Linked DNA regions of Homo sapiens: region 2 is linked to region 1. Evidence: promoter capture Hi-C in human tissues and cell types (Jung and others, 2019). All regions are on one chromosome and are shown on one strand. The core of a region is centred on a gene start or on the middle of the fragment in contact, and the rest is flanking DNA. Distances in the headings are between cores, read along the strand shown. Region 1 holds the start of MCM10 (minichromosome maintenance 10 replication initiation factor). Region 2 overlaps FRMD4A (FERM domain containing 4A).

Region 1 (6,390 bases), core at 1,002-3,501:
CAAAAACGACCCTATTGTATAAATCAGAAACCTAACAGTCATCCTAAACCTGTCTCCCCATCCCCTCTCTGCTTCCTTCTCGCTAATATCTCCACATTCAATGGATGTTTTAAAAATATAAACTCAAGATTTTATTGTCTTCATAATAAAAGAAAACATGACACTTAGAACTGGATCACTTGGCCGTTTCTCTTCTTACCTCCTCCCAGTTCAAAATGCTAGCATATTTTAATAGCCAGCACTCTCTTAGAGCTGCAGCTGGGCTCAACGCACTCAAGCCTTGGCACAATTTTCTGTAGTTTTAGCCCTTTCCTGGAAAATCGGCTTAATTTGCCCACGATAGCCACTCTGCTTCCTGTCATAACGCCGCTTTCCCTGGGCATACAGAGAATCCTTCTCCTTCGTGTACAGTGTCACTTTGTGGGGTTGGTGCTTGCCACACTTCTTATAGAAAGTCTGGCGGGTTTTAGGAAACTTCGTAATGTTTGTGTGAGCGCTATCGGCACGGAAAAGCCACATTCAATGGATTTTAAAAAATCTATTTGCCTAATTGTTTCTCAAAATCACCTCCACTTCTTTTCTCAAAGTCACCACTATACTAATTCCAATAAAAAGTGCTTGATTCTTCACTTAAGGAAGGTTTGCGGGCTTAGGTTGGTTCTGTTTCTGACTCCTTGCCCGGAACTGGATGCAAAGAGGACCTGGAAAGTGAAGGTGAAGAAAAGAACTTCAGAGTACTGATCAGAATTAGTCAAGGAATTTCTGCATAATGGCTAAGAATAAATCTATGACGAATCTTTTTTTTTTAATAACTAGATGTAGTGATGCATTTATTTATTTATTTATTTATTTATTTATTTATTTATTTAGACAGAGTCTGGCTCTGTCGCCAGGCTGGAGTGCAGTGGCGAGATCTCGGCTCATCACTGCAATCGCCACCTCCCAGGTTCAAGCGATTCTCCGCCTCAGCCTCCCAAGTAGCTGGGATTACAGACGCGCACCACTACGCCCAGCTAATTTTTGTGTTGTGTGTGTTTTTAGTAGAGATGGGGTTTCACCATGTTGGCCAGGCTGGTCTCGAACTCCTAACCTCGTGATCCACCCACCTCGGCCTCCCAAAGTGCTGGGATTACAGGGGTGAGCCACCGTGCCCGGCCTTAGTGCCGTATGTTTAAAAGTACGCATTTAAACATACTTTTTCAATTTGATTACTAGAGTTCCTCCATTACTATGAATTTTTAACACTAGCAGCTCTCAGAAATGGTTGTATTCCTATTCCTGAGCCAATATAGGTTTAAGTAATAGGGCTGAGCTCATAAATGGAGCAGTAATATTCCATTAGGACACAGAAAAAAGTCAACGTAGATGGCATCAGGACTGTTTATCTTCAGTCTTCCTAAAGTCGATTTTAATTGTTCTGAAAATGAAAGTACGTAGTGGATAGAGATAGGATCTTATACCAAAGGGATTATTAGTGGGGGAACTGCAGTGCCTGAACAGTGTCTGCAAGGAGGAAAAGGGGGGAAAGACTTAAAGTGGCCATTTGGTCCATCAAAGTCTCTTCTGCTATCAATCCCTTGAAATTATGTAAAAGCTAAATGTTATTCTGCATTTAGAAACTATGTTCTTAGTATTATGTACAAACACTATTTTTTAGAATGTAAATACATAAAGAGGCCTGAATTTTACTGAAAAAAAAATCTGTGAAAGATATGGTCTGCTGATAAGTTCTCTTCAGCCCTGACGCCCCTTAGAAGTCCCAAAATCTATGGAACAGGAATTACTCGGGAAATGGTGGTTTCAGTGTAAAAGATGTCATCTACCCTTTCCCTCACTGCACAGATGGTGAAGGGGAAACTCAGAGAGATAAGTCACTTCCCCAAGGTCAGACAGGGTAAAAGTGGACCGGATCTGTTTGGTCCTGAGCCCAAACATTTCGAATGGACATAAGGCTGACAAAGGAACAGTCGGTCCCAGAGCGTCAGGAGTTGAGGTGGGATGGGACCGCAGGGAAAATACTGGGTGGGATGACTTAAACTTCCCGGCACCAGGGGGCGCCAGACACTCTATTTTACCTAAAGGAGACTGGCTTCTACCGACAGGAAGGTCCCTTGCCCCCAACAAAGAGGGCGTCCAATGACGTAAACCAATCCGATTGCTCTGTGCCAGGGCCGGGATTCGCTGGCGTAGCCAGTCAGTGCTGCCCCACAGCCGCGTGCGTCTGACGTCAAGGCAGGGGCGGGATCCGGTTGGAATTTTGGCGGGTTCAGCTGTGAACGAAGAAGGCGTCCCGGCATCGGGTGAGGAGCGCGGGCCCCGGGCGTGCGTGTGACCCTCGGGCGGCGGGGCCGGGGCCGCCTCGCACGTCTCTGCGCGGGTTGCAAGGGGTCCGAGGCTAGAGGCGCGGGGTCCCGGGAGCTCGGGTGGGCGCGATCTGGATTTGGCGGCAGCTTGGGACCGCTCGGAGCTGGCATGGCCGGGCCGGGGGCTGGGAGTTGCTGGCCGTCTACTAAGGAATCGGGTTCTTCCTTTTAAACGCAGCCTTTTAAGTGCTTGCCAAGTGCCTGCCGCCTGGGCTTTCTTTTATTCATTCATTCATTCATTCATTCATTGGTTTCTCGTATTCATGATTTGCCAATGATTATTGAATGCGGACGGTGTGCATGGCTCGGATCACATTTCCGCTGCCTTCACAGCGCTTACAGTTTAAAGGCACGAGCAGGTAGTAAACAAATGCACGACAGTGGACGACTCAGGGTGGTCCAGAAAGTCTCAGAAAGATGAGTAAGTGGAGACCGAAGGGCGAGAAGGACCTGGGGGGAGCTTTCTTCGACAGAGCCTGAGACCTCAAAGCAGCTTAGTGTGTTCCAGAAGGTGGAAGCGGGCTGGCCCGGCTGGAGCATCGTTATGGGTGTCGGGGTGGGTAGAATTGGACGTGGTGGATTGTGGAAAATGTGAGGGAGTAGAAAGCTTGGAAAGAGAGAGAGAATATGAATCATTGCCTCGCAGGCTTTGTAGATTTTTTCTAAGGGCAATGGAAAATCATTAAAGAATTTCAATGAAGGGACCCCCATGATCTGATTTATGTTCCTAAAGGTTACTAAGGAAAGGGAAGATTACCGTGGCTGTCGTATGCAGAACAGATTGCACGGGGACAAAGAGACCAACATAGAAAGCTAACACAGTCATTGGGTTAAAGGTTGACGGTGGCTTGGCCTAGGGTTCTGGCAGTGAAGTTGGAGAGAAGTGGCAGATTTGAGCAGTGTTTTGGAGATGGGACCACAGTACTTGTCAGTGGCCGTGGATTTGAGGGCGAGGGAGGGTGCACAGTTTCATTTTGGGGGAAGGCAAGGCCGGTTACAGACTTGAACGAGACAGTTTGCTCCTAACGCTCAGGAAGCTTACTGTCCAATAGGTTCCCCAGTAGATAGCACAGTGTGTGGCACATGAGGGATCCGTGGAAATGTTGGTTGAATGAATTTTTAAAAAGCGGCCAGGCGCGGTGGCTCACGCCTGTAATCCCAGCGCTTTGGGAGGCCAAGGCGGACGGATCACCAGGTCAGGAGATCGAGACCATCCTGGCTAATACGGTGAAACCCCATCTCTACTAAAAATACAAAAAATTAGCCGGGCGTGGTGGCGGGCGCCTGTAGTCCCAGCTACTCGGGAGGCTGAGGCAGGAGAATGGCGTGAACCCGGGAGGCGGAGCTTGCAGTGAGCCAAGATCGCCCCATTGCACTCCAGCCTGGGTGACAGAGACTCCGTCTCAAAAAAAAAAAAAAGCACCTTTGGGAGTCCAAGGCTGATGGATCACTTGACATCAGGAGTTCAAGACCAGCCTGGGCAACATGGCGAAACCCTGTCTCTACAAAAAACACAAAAATTAGCCGGGTGTGGTAGTGCACGTTTGTAATCCCAGCTACTTGGGAGGCTGGGGCAGGAGAATCACTGGAGCCTGGGAGGCGGAGGTTGTAGTGAGCCAATAGCACCACTGCACTCCAGCCCCAGCGACAGAGCGAGATCCTGTCTAAAAAAAGAAAAGAAAGTACCATAATCACTGTAATTAGTTCCTTGACATTGAACTTGCCAAAGAGCACATGTAAGTTAAATAAGAGCCTAGAAAAATGTATACTTTCTTACTTGCAGTTTAAAAAATAACCTTAAATGAAAAGAGAAGTGCACAAAGTGATACAACTTTGTCTTAATTAGCTACGCTGTTTCTCTGTGCTTTGCTGACTAGTATTGAATCAAAATCCTGATTGTCACTAAGGCTCCACCTAAGTAGAATCATACAGTAAGCTGTCGTGGATAACGCAGATGTCAGGTGTATTACAGTGAATAAAATGAAAGAATAGCCTAATGTAGATCGACCCCAATAATTTGTGTGTGTGTGTGTGTAATTTTTAAAAAAGACAAGGTCTTGCTATGTGACCAGGCTGGTCTCAAACTTCTGGCCTCAAGTGATGCGCCCACCTTAGCTTCCCAAAGTGCTGGTATTACAGGCGTTGAGCCACTGTACCTAGCCAACCCCAATAGTTCTTCCTCATAATTTATCTCATCCACGTAATCTAGTGTGATTTACAAACTGCTCTGCAGCTCAATAACTTTCTGTAACCTTAAACACAAGTAAAAGTGAGCTGCTACATCCAAGGAAGGAGATGGCATTGGCGGTGTGGAGAGAGGAGGTGAGAAATGGTCAGATTCTGGATGAATTCTGAGGTTAGAGCCCATAGGAGTGGTAGGATTCTGGGTTTGTTGGATGTGTGTTGTGAGAGAAAGAGAAGAATTGAAAGTGACATTTCTAATATTGCTTTCACACAGCCAAGATTCTACATTGCTCATCTGGGCATCTGAGCCTCCTTCGAAGTTTCCTGTCACAACTGTCCTCTTGACAGCATGGATGGTAAGACCTGGCAGTTTTCTGTTACTCTGTTTCAAGGAAAACTAACCTTTTGTCCATGGACTTGTTATTTATTCTACCTGTAAAATGGTGAAAATGCTCCCCAGCCCTCAGGTATTGTCTTAGTGGTTCTGAAGCAATCTCACATCTCACAGAGGTCACTGAATGTTACTTGCTTTTATCAGGGGAGATTTCTTCTGGCAACAGAGATTGTCTTTCATAATTACAATAGCTGGTAGGTGTACAGTGGGCCAGGCACTGCTCCAAGATCCTTGTGGAAATTAACTGATTCAGTCCTCAGGCAAACGTATTTTATAGGCAGAAAAACAGGGATGTTTAGTAACTTGTCACAGTTCAAGCTGGCATAGCAGGGCTTTGAACCAGGCAGTCTGACTTCAGAGTTTACATTTGATAATGAAATCTGCTGAAGCGATATTAGTCTAGCTCTGACTTAAGTTTTTATTAATATCATCCTTTCTAATTTTGTTCATTTTGCAAGGATGTGTACAAAATGTTTACCTAGAAAAGAGATGTTGCACTAATTAGCGATCACCTAAAATGATTGTGCTGGGCTGGACGCAGTGGCTCACGCCTGTGATCTCAACACTTTGGGAGGCCGGGGTGGGAGGATTGCTTGAGCCCAAGAGTTCAAGACCAGCCTGGGCAATAGAGTGAGACCTCATTTCTATTTTTAAAAAATTAAAATGATTGTGCTGGTTGTGAAGAGATCTAGTTGCATAATTGAACTCATAATCTGAAACTGGGTTTTTTTAAAAAATTCAAACATATTACACTTTGCCCTTTAAAACAAAACTTGAAATTCCTCACACTGTGATGCACAGTGGACCCCCGTTGTCCCTGAGAGATGTGTTTCCACACTCCCAGCAGATGCCTGAAACCCAGGATGGTACCAAACCCTAGGCATGCTGTGTTTTTTCCTGTACATACATACGTGTGATAAAGTATAATTTATGAATTAGGCACAGTGAGAGATGAACAACAATAATAAAATGGAACAATTATGACAATATACTGTAATAAAAGTTATGTGAATGTGGTCTCTCTCTAAAGTATCTATTGCACTCTCAAAATATCCATTGTACTGTCCTCAACCACAGTGACCATGGAAAATCAAAACCACAGAAAATAAACCCTCAGATAAGGGGTTATTCCTTATGTGAAACTCATTGCCTGATGCTATCATGGTAGTTTCCTGTTTCTTAAAATTGGCAAATTGCCTACAGGGCAGGTTATATAATACAAAGCATCACTTTTTGCTATCAGATTGACATGAAAATAAGAGGTGAATGGATACCTGTTCTCTAAGAAATCATAGTATCTATCTGGAAACAGTATAGGTCAAGAAAGAAGAAATCATAATGTTTAGGCTGGGTGCGGTGGCTCATGCCTGTAATCCCAGCACTTTGGGAGGCCAAGGTGGGTGGATCACCTGAGGTCAGGAGTTCGAGGCCAGCCCGGCTAACATAGTG
Region 2 (6,390 bases), core at 2,054-4,553, 1.0 Mb after region 1:
GCCTCTCCCCCTGTGCCAAGGACCCATGACCTGCTTGCTGCCTGGGCTCTTTGTGTGGTTTGGTTGCTTTTCTCAGACTTGAATGCTTCCCACTGAAATCCTACAATTGGGCACATAGCACTCCCTATTGAAAATGTATAATAGCTTCTCATTATACAAGCTCTTCACTTTGGCTTTTAGAATCATGTGCCGTCTCCTTTCCTATTTGCCTCCCGCCTGCCAAACTCATTATCCAATCATTCCCTCTTCAATCAGTCCCACCTTTCTACCTTTAGGTCCTTTTCCAGAATCCAAACTTTAATCAAAGAGATAAAGCAGGCCAAGACCCAATGTCCATTACTTAATAAGCCCTCAATAGACATTAGCTTTCTTCAAAGTCCTCATCAACTCCTTTCCTTGGCTGCGCACAGTAGCTCAGACTTTGAGAGGCTGAGGTGGAAGGCTCACTTAAGCCCAGGAGTTTGAGACAAACCTGGGCAACATAGTGAGACCCCGTCCCTACGAAAAATCAAAAAATTAGCTGAGCACCAGTGGCATGCGCCTGTGGTCCCAGTAACTTGGGAGGCTGGGGTGGGAGGATCGCCTGAGCCTGGGAGGTTAAGGCAGCAATGAGCGGTGATTGCAGCACTGACCTCCAGTCTGGGCAACGGAGCGAGGTTTTGTCTCAAAAACAAAACCAAACAAAATCCCGCCCAAAACAACTCCTTTCTGGGAAGCTTTCCCTGAGCAACCCAGCTCACCTCTGTTTGTCTTCACTGCCTGTTTGACATTTAGCTTAAGTTACCTTGTGCTGTTATCTTTTAACCCTGATCTGTATTTTAACCCTCAAGCACAAGGTCTCATGGCTGTGTATTTCCACCTCTGTGTATGGTGTCCTATAGACAGTGAGAGCTTAACATCTCGCGTCAGTGATGATGCTGCAGCATTGCTACGATGTCACCCTTAGCTCCAAACATGCCTACATCATTGGCAAACCTTTGAAATCCCAATAGCAAAATGCCAGAAATGCAAGAATTTGAGGTGGAAAAAGGGGTAAGAGGAGGAAGAGAATGGGCCCGGCGCGGTTGCTCACGCCTGTAATCCCAGCACTTTGGGAGGCAGAGGTGGGTGGATCACCTGAGGTCAGGAGTTCAAGACCAGCCTGACCAATATGATGAAACCTGGTCTCTACTAAAAATACAAAAAATAGTCAGGTGTGGTGGCGGGCACCTGTAATCCCAGCTACTCGGGAGGCTGAGACAGGAGAATTGCTAGAACCTGGGAGGCGGAGGTTGCAGTGAGCTGAGATTGCACCATTGCACTCCAGCCTGGGCAACAAGAGTGAAACTCCATTTCAAAAAAGAAAAAAGAGGAGGAAGATAATGAATATTTACAGACTGCCTTCTCTGTACCAAGTAACATTCTTTGTTCTTGTATAAATATCCTCTCCTATAAAGAAAAAAATAAACAAAAAGAGGGAATTGATTCAGTCAGGGTAACAGATGTTAGTGTCATCACTTAGGACTAGAGCCCATAAACTTCTGACTGCCACTGAAAAACAGCCAATGTCAAGGTGAGTTTAGACAGATCTTAACTCAGCCTGATGCTCATTAATGAGAACAATGGCAAAAGTGTTGGGAATTTGAGTCGGCCTCAGTAGGAAAATCCTTATAAATTTAATGAGAGCTCAGGAGAGATTTCTATCTATCTTAATTATGCTTGCAAACTTCATAGGGCGCTCTCTGACTCTAGGCTAAAACATGAAGCACCTTGATACCTCTAATACATAAGCCTAAGGCAGTAAATCAGGTTCTCCCCACACGTACACCACTTTCCAAAATATATTTGACAAAACTTGTCTAAATGTCTCATAGACACTACCCTTTGACTAAGAAAACGGTTTTGGTTATCACTCCCATTTTACAGACAGAAAAACTGTGGAACAGATTCTGATGCAACAGTATGCCCTCGCCCTAGCAGACGAGTTTGTTGCTCATCCTGAAGTGAAAACAGTAGTTTCTTCACAGCAAATGACCACCCCTCTCATGTTGGTAGTTCTACCATTTTCAAGACAACTGTATTACCAGAAAAAAGGGCTCACTGCTGGATGTGCTGGAAGCCGATACTATGACACCGGGTTTTCTGTTTGTTTGTTTTTTGTTCATTTTTTAGAGTCAGGGTCTTGCTCTGTTGCCCAGGCTGGAGTGCAGTGGTGCCATCATAGCTCACTGCAGCCTCAGTCTCCAAGGCTCTAGCGATCCTGCCTCCCGAGTAGCTGAGACCACCTCTGCCTCCCAAGTATTTGAGACCACAGGCACATGCTATCACACCTGGCTAATAAATTTTTTGTAGAGCTGGAGTTTTCTTGTGTTGCCCAGTCTGGCCTCAAATTCCTGGCCTCCAGCAATCCTTCCACCTTGGTCCCCCAAAGTGCTGGGATTACCGGCGTGAGCCCCGGCATCTGTCAACACTGGATTTTTGAGAAAAGAAAAGCTTTATATTGCAAGTCTACTCACAAGGAGACAGGAGTCAAGTTCAAATCTGTCTATCTGTGCTGGCTCCAAGGCAGTATTTTTTAATGGAAAAGTTTCAGGGGGTGGATTTGGGGATAAGCAGGTGACTGATGGAAGGAAGCAGGAAGTCTGGAAAGTCCTTGGGCATGCGCAGTTATCTATTCGTGATGCCTCCTGGGGCTTTGTGTGCAAATTTGGAGGAAGTTAGTGTGAAACATGGGTGGGAATTCAGGCTGTGAGGTCAGCAAGCTGGTTCCGTGCAGACCCCAGTCAGCCATATTGGTTCCAACCAACTTTAGCCAGTTCTTTTATCTCACAGGTGGAGAGAGTTTTAGTGTCGCAGTGAGAGGTTTCTTGTCTTATATGTTAACCTGCACACTCAAGAATTTTTGTTAGTTACTGGTTGTACTCTTGGGGGCATAGTCTCAGTTTCAGCTTTTCAGCAAGTTTTTGCTTTTCTTATGTGTGTTATCCTCTAAGCCCAAGAAGTTAGCCATTGGCTTCTTTAACTCTTTGGGGCATGGTTTCAGTTGGGAATCCCAAACAGAAAGGGTCTTCTGCTTTGAGAGAATTTTATCTAAATGGACACACAACTCATAAAACAACAGTCGTTGAGAGAAAGCAGAGGCTAATGGGGTCAAAGGTGAACAGCCAGTAGAAGTGCCAGCTCCTAAGAGAAAGGATATCAAGGGACAGCCATAGTTTACAAGACCCAGGACCAATCCCAATAAAAGTCCTGTCTCATGACCCCTGGTCTCTCTGTCACTAATTGAGAAATACAATCGACCGCTCCCCTCTGTTTATGCAGTGCATCCAGCATCATGTGACTACACAAGAGAACAAAAAGTAGTATCGGCTGTTGCTATGGAGACTTAAGAACCATGTGAATTGCTATGGCATCATAAAAGCGATATTCCAATCATCAGTCTTTAACTATAGGGCCGTTGAAATCTATCTCATATTTTTAGAATGTGTGACATTTAACACATTGATGAATATTTCCAGCCTCAGAATATATTCCCTGCTTTCATATTTAGATAGGAGTTTTCAGCTCAACTGGCTGTTTTTTTTTTTTCTCTCTCTCTCTCTCTCTCCTGGCAAATGCTTCATCTCCTCATGAGTGATTACAACTCTTTCTATACTTTCCTAGATGTTTCTTCATTCTTGCTTCCTGTTTTTTCTTTATTCTATAATTAAAATTATTTTCTCACTCACTGTCTCCACTTCCACCAGACCACTTTTTCACATCCCCGGTTGACATTTCAACCAGGCTTTAACCTCCACTGGTCTTAACTGACCACACTTTAAGCCAGAGTTGCTAATAATCAACAATTCTGAGCCCCAGCCAAAGGTGCACAGCTACCTCCTTGGTGGTTTTTATCCCTGAAAGTCACCATCCCCTTATCATCCAAGGGAATTCCAATTCACTGACTTTTCTAGGCTTTATATGAAATCATTCTTTTGGATGGAGAATAACATATCTAATTCTCCACTTTTTTCTTTGTAAGAATTGCTAACTGGGTTTTGTGTAGCTGTATACACAGACCATTTTGAATATCAGTGTGTATCCACACACACCTGTTTTGCTTATCTTATTTGGAAGATGTTGAAAGAGATTGATTAACTTGTTTAGAGTAACAGCTCTTATAACCTAATTAGCTTAGAAGCAAAAATGGGAAAGTGTAAATATCAGGAAATATACATTCACATAACAAAACTCTGCTAAAAGAAACCTGTTACAGTGGTGCACTGTTGTGAGATAAATTCCTCCACATTCCTTTTATTCTTGCAGCATCAGCCTCTCCAAATCTTCATGTGTATTAAGAACCTTCTTTTTTTAACCTCTTTCCTTAAGAGAGCTTCAGGATCTCTTGGACTTATGTATTTTCATCTCCTCCTTAAACCTCTCCAAAGAAGAGCCTTCTTGTTCCCTCCACAGTATTATACAATAAGCTCAAGTACATCAGTGAACATGGTATTACCAAGGTGTGATTTTATTCTGTGAGTTTCCAGGAATGAACATCTCCCCTCTAGGTTACTGAATTCTAAAACGTAATGAATTCCTTCAAAGAGTTTTTAAGCATTTTTGCATCAACTTTTTCTTCCAGGGGTCACAAAGGATGATTTATTTATTCACTGTTGCATTTCTAATCACACCAATAGGGTGCAGTTGTCACTGCTGTGTACATAGCAATATGAACTAAATATATTTGCACAGACAGTAATGCCACAAAAAGAAATAAAGAGTAACAGCGTGTATTTGCTGACTCCAACATCAAGGACTGCACTGTTATCCTTGTCAATATCTAGGTCAAGTTAAATACTGTTTTCAGAAATTCTACCCTGGGCCATCCATGGCTAATTTTATTTTTTGTTTGAATGGGATTTCTGGTAATCATGATCTTGGGAAGAACACAGTCTTACTCCTGATGATTTCTAAATACATTAGACTGTCTGTAAACCAATGAACAGTACTTTACCTTGCTTTCTCCCTGATAGGTTGCCTCTTAATTAATCAATCCATCAACTGAGACTAATGCACCAAGTGATGTGCCTCACATCAGGAACTGTGCAATGGAAGCATTAGTGAGCCTTTGCTGATATTTTTACTTAACACTTTCGGGTCCAGAGACCTTGTCTTATTAATCACAAACCAAACTTCCAGAAAACGGAAATGTCACATTTCATTGCTTTTTAATTCTTGGTGTTTTACCACATACATACATACACCCACCCACCCACCCACACACACACACACACAGAGTGTGCAATGGAAACTTGTAGAGTGAATGTAAAAACAGAGGGATGAATTCAGAACAAGACCCCATATGGTTTTTGAAGAACATACAATTTAGTTGGGCAAAGAGGAGACCAGAAATATTCATAAGCAATGAAAGATGGCCTGGAAACCAAGCAAAAAGTTGCAGTAGGGACCAGCAGTGCTGGTCTACAAATTAAAAAAAAAAAAACTACAAATAATATATAATATTATATAACAAATACATATGCCTAGAGATACTGCTTTGATGTTCTATGTCAACTCCAGGCTCCTCTCGCTAAGACACTGGCACACTTCTTAGTTTGATGAGGTTGATGGAAATGCGTTGCTCCTTTCCTAGACTTCTTGGTCCCTAAAAGGTTCTGTGGTGAACACTGATCCATCCCAACCCATGTCCCCTGCTTCTCTGAATTTTTCCTGATTCAAAGTTGATACATACAAACTATGGAAATTCCCTTTCTTTTTTAATTCCATGAAGATCAGACTTTAAGACACAGAATTTCCATGCATTAAATTTACATAACTAGCTATACATGTTGGCAAAAGCACAAACCTGCAAATGAAGACCCCAGGGGGTTTCCTCTGTGATTTTAATTCTCATTTTTATACTTATCTTCATTTTGCAAATTCCCTACAATCAGCTTCTATAACCACAAAAGTAAAAGCAAATAACAAAGCCCTCTAGCGATGTGAGAACATTCACTTATTCCTTCCTTGACTCATCCATCTCTGCGTTCCTTCATTCACTCGTCAGCCCTACTACTTCTCACAGCACTATGCTGGCATTGTGGGGAAAGGGTATTAAAAAACACGGAGGAGGCCGGGTGCAGTGGTTCAGGCCTGTAATCCCAGCACTTTGAGAGGCCGAGGCGGGCGGATCACGAAGTCAGGAGATCGAGACCATCCTGGCTAACACGGTGAAACCCCGTCTCTACTAAAAAATACAAAAAATTAGCCGGGCGTGGTGGCAGGCACCTATAGTCCCAGCTACTCGGGAGGCTGAGGCAGGAGAATGGCGGGAACCCGGGAGGCGGAGCTTGCAGTGAGCCGAGATCGCACCACTGCACTCTCGCCTGGGCGACACAGCGAGACTCTGTCTCAACAACAACAACAACAACA

The links. Contacts are between HindIII fragments. The study calls those that stand out against the background at their distance.
Region 2: a fragment that was not itself captured here is called in contact with the fragment with the promoter of MCM10 in region 1 in 1 of the 25 tissues and cell types used here (thymus).

The regions. Positions count from the first base shown.
Region 1 is chr10:13,159,307-13,165,696 of GRCh38, forward strand. MCM10 (minichromosome maintenance 10 replication initiation factor) reads left to right here and starts at 2,252. Exons shown (of 20, transcript NM_018518.5): 1 at 2,252-2,300; 2 at 4,822-4,903. The coding sequence starts at 4,897. It also overlaps the pseudogene RPL36AP36. RefSeq lists silencers at 2,001-2,314, 2,337-2,516. The HindIII fragment of the contact is 5,218 bases long and covers 1-3,185 here.
Region 2 is chr10:14,188,240-14,194,629 of GRCh38, forward strand. All of the region lies in intron 2 of FRMD4A (FERM domain containing 4A), which reads right to left. Among named protein-coding and RNA genes, the nearest start is that of FRMD4A-AS3, 120 kb to the left of the region's middle. The HindIII fragment of the contact is 7,611 bases long and covers 1-6,390 here.